2 separate regions of the Homo sapiens genome follow, and region 2 is linked to region 1. The links are contacts of gene promoters, found by promoter capture Hi-C in blood cells and fetal thymus (Javierre and others, 2016). All regions are on one chromosome and are shown on one strand. The core of a region is centred on a gene start or on the middle of the fragment in contact, and the rest is flanking DNA. Distances in the headings are between cores, read along the strand shown. Region 1 holds the start of YIPF4 (Yip1 domain family member 4). Region 2 holds the start of YPEL5 (yippee like 5).

What was found. Contacts are between HindIII fragments. The CHiCAGO score rates a contact against its expected background, and 5 or more counts as called.
Region 2: the fragment with the promoter of YPEL5 here is called in contact with the fragment with the promoter of YIPF4 in region 1 in 6 of 17 cell types (total B cells, non-activated CD4 T cells, total CD4 T cells and 3 more); the score reaches 13.6 in total B cells.

The regions. Positions count from the first base shown.
Region 1 is chr2:32,276,290-32,279,890 of GRCh38, forward strand. It overlaps YIPF4 (Yip1 domain family member 4), which reads left to right and starts at 1,615. Exons shown (of 6, transcript NM_032312.4): 1 at 1,615-1,945. The coding sequence starts at 1,867. RefSeq lists an enhancer at 730-1,475 and a silencer at 1,713-1,822. The HindIII fragment of the contact is 1,217 bases long and covers 1,027-2,243 here.
Region 2 is chr2:30,145,270-30,148,870 of GRCh38, forward strand. YPEL5 (yippee like 5) reads left to right here and starts at 1,738. Exons shown (of 3, transcript NM_016061.3): 1 at 1,738-1,793. RefSeq lists silencers at 1,342-1,921, 1,952-2,121, 2,412-2,851. The HindIII fragment of the contact is 10,963 bases long and covers 1-3,314 here.

The DNA of each region.
Region 1 (3,601 bases), core at 365-2,864:
GAGTGGTGATGACTCTTAAGGAGCATGCCGCCTTCCAGCATCTGTTTAACAAAGCACATCTAGCACAGCCCTTAATCCATTTAACCGTGAGTTGACACAGCACATGTTTCAGAGAGTTCGGGTTTGGGGCTAAGGTTATAGATTAACAGCATCTCAAGGCAGAAGAATTTGTCTTAGTACAGAACAAAATGGAGTCTCCTATGTCTACTTCTTCCTACACAGACACAGTAACAATCTGATCTCTCTTTCTTTTCCCCACAATCACCCATCAAATTGGCATGTTTTAAAAAATGGTTATATTCGGGCTGGGTGCAGTGGCTCACGCCGGTAATCTCAGCATTTTGGGAGGCCAAGGCAGGCAGACCACAAGGTCAGGAGATCGAGACCATCCTGACTAACATGGTGAAACCCCGTCTCTGCTAAAAATACAAAAAATTACCCAGGCGTGGTGGCAGGCACCTGTAGTCCCAGCTACTCGGGAGGCTGAGGCAGGAGAATCGCTTGAACCCTGGAGGCGGAGGTTGCAGTGAGCCGAGATCGCGCCACTGCACTCCATCCTGTCGACAGAATGAGACTCCGTCTCAAAAATAAATAAATAAATAAATAAATATTAGCCAAACATGGTGGCAGGGGGCTTGTAGTCCCAGCTACTTAGATAGCTGAGTTGGGAGGACTGCCTGAGCCCAGGAGTGTGAGGTTACAAGGAGCTATTACTGCACCACTGCACTCCAGCCTGGGTAACGGAGCGACCTTGTCTCTAAAACAAACAAAACCACTACATTTACTCATCCTTTAAGTACCAACATGTTACCTCCTGTGAGAAAATTTTCCAGAAATACCATTTAACACACTAATAGACATGTCTCTCGATTGCTCTATTGCTGATCAATTGTGTATTTCTCCAAGTTGGCCTCCTAATATACCCCAACCCCTCTTTCTTCAAGTTGGAAGCCACATTTATGTAGCTTGAATATTAAAGTTACGTATGTAAACATTTAAAAGCAGGTGAGTTTGTTAACTTCGGCAAGCTTATCAGTAGACAGGGCCTTCCAGTGAAAAGAGCACTTGACTAGAAATTAGGAGATTTAGGTACTGTCCTAAATCTGTTTCTACCTTACTTTCTCTGGCCTCAGTTTTCTCCCTCATAAAGGAATGTATCTACAGCCCTAGTCTCTGGGTGGCGATTTACGGCTTCTCTGCCTTTTATCTTCATTCTCCGATCCATCCCTCTTCATCTTACAGGTGAGGAAACTGCCATCCAGACATTACATATAACTTAGTCAAGATCCTACACTATTAATTAATGGCTAATGGCAAGGGAATCTTGAGATCCTGTACGGCGGCTGACCCATAAAATCTACCTAGTTCTAAAATTCTTTAACCCACCCACTTAACAAAAACGGAGGTAATAGGTAAACAAAACGCCAGGAAAGATCGCACTTAAAGGAACAAAAGCACCCAAGGAGGAAAAAGAGGCCTGAGATTTCCACGAATTACAAGTGAACTTCCTGTCCTGGGTAAACTTCCGGAATCAACAACAGGAAGACCCAATCAGAATCTTCCTCCGGGAGCCAATGGGAGAGCACATTACAAAGAGCCAATCCCAGCGCCGCTGTCACTGTTATGGTCCTGTCAGGGTGCCGGCGTCGTGGTGCTTGGGTGGTCGCCACCAAGAAGACTTTGGTGGGGTAGTCTCGGGGCAGCTCAGCGGCCCGCTGTGCCCGTTTCTGGCCTCGCTCGCAGCTTGCACGTCGAGACTCGTAGGCCGCACCGTAGGGCGAGCGTGCGGGTCGCCGCCGCGGCCGCCTCGGGGTCTGGGCCCAGCCGCAGCCTCTTCTACCGCGGCCGGTTGGGAGTCGCCGCGAGATGCAGCCTCCGGGCCCGCCCCCGGCCTATGCCCCCACTAACGGGGACTTCACCTTTGTCTCCTCAGCAGACGCGGAAGGTGAGGCTGAGCCCCTGGAAGGGCTATCACCCGGAGGAAGCCAGGGCCCGACGCCGTAGGGTCTTTCTGGTGCCGAGGTGGTCGTGGCCGGGTGGGGACAGGCAGGAAGCTGACTGGTGACTGCAGCCCACCACGCCTGCCGGGCCTTCCGAGAGGCCCCGAAGGACGGAGGGAGGGGTGTAGGGAGCTGCTTTTTAAAGCATCAAGTTACTCGGTCAGCCCTTGGTTTTCCCCATACCGTCTGGTGGCTGGTTTTTCTGGGTGGCTTAGTCTCTTCAATTGGACCCACAAAATCCTAAGCTTTTAGTTCTGGAATTACTCGCCCTTACTCAGAAAAAGGACAGATTGGCCAAGGGAGATCTCAAAGAATGAGAAAAAGGAAGGAGGGCTGTTTTCTTCTGTTATGTATCAACAGATAATTTTTTGGGGGGGGTCTGGGATCAGATTCGGCACTGCAAATACAAACTAAATGGTTTTTATTGAATTTGATGTCTTGCCCGAGTCCCCGTTTTCCTCGCATTTTGTAATGTTTCACCTCAGTATTCAGAGAAATTGACGCAGGTATATTGGAAGTTTAGTGTAAACCAACAATGTGTTTCCAGTAGCCTCTACAGATTTCCTTGTATTATTCTGAGGAAGCGATTGTGCTGGAGATATTTTCCTACAGCACAGGAGAATGTTTCCCTCCTATTCTCAGTTCCCTATCCAACTCATAACCTGGATATTATTCTGCTAGTCATTTTCAATTTTTTTTTTTTTCTTGAGCTCTGTCGCCCAGGCTGGAGTGCAGTGGCGCGATCTCGGCTCACTGCAAGCTCCGCCTCCCGGGTTCACGCCATTCTCCTGCCTCAGCCTCCCGAGTAGCTGGGGCTACAGGCACCCGCCACCACCCCCGACTAATTTTTTTTGTATTTTTAGTAGAGATGAGGTTTCACCGTGTTAGCCATGATGGTCTCTCGATCTCCTGACCTCGTGATCCGCCCGCCTCGGCCTCCCAAAGTGCTGGGATTACCGGCGTGAGCCACCGCGCCCCGGCCATTTTCAAATTTTTATTACACTTCGTGCACCAGTTATTTTCCAGTGACCAGACTTACTGGCTGCTATGAAATCATAAATTATGTTTACAGAAATTTCAGTCTGAGAAAGAACCTAGATTTTCCTTTTTTTTTTTTTTTTTTTTTGAGACTGAGTCTCGCTCTGTCGCCCAGGCTGGAGTGCAGTGATGCCATCTCGGCTCACTGCGAGCTCTGCCTCCCGGGTTCACGCCATTCTCTGGCCTCAGCCTCCCGTGTAGCTGGGACTACAGGCGCCCGCCACCACGCCCGGCTAATTTTTTTTTTTTTTGTATTTTTTTTTAGTAGAGACGGGGTTTCATAGTGTTAGCCAGGATGGTCTCGATCTCCTGACCTCGTGATCCGTCCGCCTCGGCCTCCCAAAGTGCTGGGATTACAGGCGTGAGCCACCGCGCCCGGCCGAAAGAACCTAGATTTTCCTAAGAAATTTTATGGTGTATCAGTATAGCTTGTTTTCCCTTTTGTTTTTCTTGTTGTGCTGTTTGGCATTGTTTTTTAAAAATAGTACTGGTCATAATTTAAAATGTACAATAAAATTTTTGTCTATCAAAGGGAACATAGCTGAGACATTTATTTTTTTTTC
Region 2 (3,601 bases), core at 488-2,987, 2.1 Mb before region 1:
ATGTATAATACATTCAATTTGGGAAGAATAGGATACATATGAAGCTGTTAGAAGACAGAAGTCTCTTATCAAATGAGGCAGTATGATCTTCCTACAATAAACGTGTAACTTTTATATTAAATATTGTTAATTGAAAATAAAGAAATAGAAAGGAAAATAAACTAAAATACTGTATGTTTAAAACTTCTGGCCAGGCACAGTGGCTCATGCCTGTAATCCCAGCACTTCAGGAGGCCGAGGCGGGCGGATCACGAGGTCAGGAGTTCGAGACCAACCTGGCCAATATGGTGAAACCCCGTCTCTACTAAAAATACAAAAATTAGCCGGGCGTGGTGGTGTGCGCCTGTAATTCCAGCTACTCAGGAGGCAGAGGCAGGAGAATTGCTTGAACCCGGGAGGCGGAGGTTGCAGTGAGCCAAGATCATGCCACTGCACTCGAGCCTGGGCGACAGAGCAAGACTCCGTCTGAAACAAACAAACAAAAAAACTTATCTCCTGGAAAACTCACTTATTAAAAGATAACTAGTCCTTTTGCCTTTGATGCTCAGGTAAACTTCAGACGAACTAAATGAAAATACTTGTGGATTTGGGGATGAGCGGGAGTCAAGTGCTAGAATTTGCTTAGCAGCTTCTCTTCCACCAATAATGACTTTAAACATGTTGCAAACTAGCCCCAAATGCTAACCTACATTTTTAATCTGAGAGGTATGCGTCATCAAATATTTTGGTTTTATCCCGAAAGTCAGCTAACAGAGATGTAAGTACCTGGGCAACTCTAATGGAATGAGAAGCAACATCTTCCATCTTAAGCATTGATAAGGGTTAAGGGAACAGCTGCTCTTTGCAATGAACAAATCTCACTCTCTGAGGCAGAAATTCGCCATATAGAAGACTGAATTTCTTCATCTTTTTGAGAATCATTTCCACTACCCAGAAAAAACATTCAAATGAGTTGTAAATAAAGTCAAGCGCAGTTGAAAAATCCTGTATCCACAGATGTTTCTTAGGAGTGCCTATGCGCTTAGACTCGAGGGCTAGGGGTTTGAAAGCAAAAGGCAGCCCTCTACCAGGGGTGGTCGGGGAAACGGCCTCCAAGAAACGAATTACACGGTGCACTTTAGTTACCTAGGCAGCTGTTTGTCTAGGAAACAGCTTATTGTTTTCATTTGTCATCACCGCGGCTCACTAGGTATCAGGAAGCTCGGCTCCAGCCGCTACCTGGTGACGCTAATGACGTGCGATGTCTCGCAGCTGCCGCAATTAGACAGGCCAAGCCTTCGCCTTTAAGAAGCTGACTCACGTGGATGCTGTGTTGTGTGCGCTCAGCTGAAAGGGGGAGGTGGGTCCCCAGACTGACTACATTGGCCGCCTCGAGAGAAGGGGCAGAGTTAGCCTCTTTGATTGGCTGTACGAGTCCGAGGTGCTGGGTCAGGGGCGGGGCGAGCTGTCGCAAGCCTGCCCTGGGTCTGCGGCTTCTGAGAGGGGTGGGCCGCGAAGCGGAGGGGTGCGGGAGTGGGGGAGGGTGAGCCAGAGAAGGGGCGGGGCCCCGCGAAAAAGGCAGGAGGCCGAGGACAGGGGCGGGGCCTAGAAATAAAGGGCGTTCTGGGCCAACCGGGAGAGCTGACTGCGGGGGGGCGGAGCCACGCCGGGTGACTGACGTTGAGGCCCAACCAGGGAGAGGCGGGGCCAAGGCCAGGGCCTGACTAAACCTGGAGACTCGGGTGGCCGAGGGGCTTCATACCAGCTGAAGAGCGACAAGCCGCTGGCAGCCGCGGATCTCACCGCCGCTCAGGGTGAGTCCCGCGGGAGGGGCTGGACTCGGGGCCGGTGGGGACTGAGGCGCCCGTTCGGGTCGGGCGGCTTCGAGGCACTCGGGAATCGGCCCAGGGTGGGGGGCCCAGGCAGGAAGTGCCTCTTCCTCGCCGCGCTCTTCCCGGGGTCCCAGAGCGGCCGCCCCAGATCCTTCAGGGTGGGCCCCGGCGCTGGGACCGCGGGCGGACGCGCGGGGCTGTTTGCTCTTTGTGAGGCCTGGCGCGGCGGCCGCCGTCGGCCCGCCCCCGCCGCGCAGCCGGGCGACCGGTGCGACAACAGCCGCAACCCCTCCGCGCGGCGCCCGCGCCTCCGCCCCGTTTCCCCGTCGCGTCCTCCGAGGCCCGCCGCCGAGGCCCACGGCGCCCCCTGGGCGGACGGTCTGGCCGCGACCCCCAACCCGCCGCGCCGCGCCGCGGCTGCCCCGCCCCCACCCGTCGCATAGTCGGGGGCGCGCCCGGTCTCCGCCCCGAATCCAAGTCGGAACTTGACCGAGTTGTTTGGGCCGCGATGACCGCACGGCGTGAACCGTCCTGAGCAGGGCCCACGCCCGGCCCAAGCGGCCCAGCCACCGGGCTGGGGCGGTGTCTCCCTTTGCCCCCTCCCCCCCATGAACGTCCGCCTCCCCCGCCCTCCTGCCCAGAGGACCCGGGACTGACAGCGCAGGGTGACGGTTGGGCAGCCCGCCGGGTGTCGGGACCAAGAGAGCCCCCCGGCCACCCGCTCAGCTGTTTCCTGCTCGTGTTTGTTGTGCCGAGGGAGGCCCCGCCGCCACCGCCGCCGCCGCGCTCTGCCGCCCCGGTCCCTCCCGATTGGCCGGCTGGCGTCACGTGGCCTCCATCAGCTGGGCCGGCGGGGGCGCTCGCGGGCCCCACTGCGGCTGCCGGGTGAGCCCACCCGGGGGTCGCCCGGGCCGGCCCAGCTCCGCCAGCTTCGGGCTGCGGCCTTCCCTCCGCTTGCAGTCGGGAGGGTGGGCGTGCCCTTGCAACCCCTTTCCTGTACCTTCTCTGCAGGTAGATGGGACAAATGAGTGTCCGGATCAGCGGGAGTGGGAAATTGAAATACTACAAAGATCTGTTTAATCCTGATACCAACTAATCTCCCTTTCAAGGGAGAGTCTGGGAAGCTGTACAGCTCATTTATTTTTAAACTTTTTCTGTTTACAGAGATCTGTTGGTAATCTGAGGATTTTTATTCTACGTCGTCTTGACAGATGGAAAACCTGAAGTAACTTCGGGCTAACCTTGTGTTTTTGGAAAATTAGTAGACTTGGTGGTGAAGAAACTGGGAGGAGTAGGATATTAGCTAACTTTGCATAGCCACATATAGAGCGTCGCAGCTGCATTCCACCAAAGAGGAACCAAAAGGCCTGTGGTGTTCCCAGGGTACATATTCATGCCAGAAGTGAAGTGCTTTGGTGAATTCGTTTCCTGAAAGTTTATCGCATACTTGTACTGGGTTAGGTAAGAAGTAAAGTACAAAGAATTTAGAATAGTTTCTCTAGAAGCTTATAACTTAATCAAAAGTCGTGGACAAAGTCGAGCAATAATTTTAGCAAGTTATGAGACGTTAGTAAAATATATGTAGCTTGGAAAATAATGTTACCTGGTTGGATCATTGCGAACTTTTCTCTAGACTAATTTCCCTTTTCTGTTTTCTATTTAAGTAATGAGAAAAATAAACAGGTTTAGAAAAAAGTGAAAGGAAATAAGGCCAAAAATTATGAAAAGAAGTAATTAAAGCAGCTACTACCCTCTGAAAAACAGTCCACGAGACATGAAGGTAGTCCTAG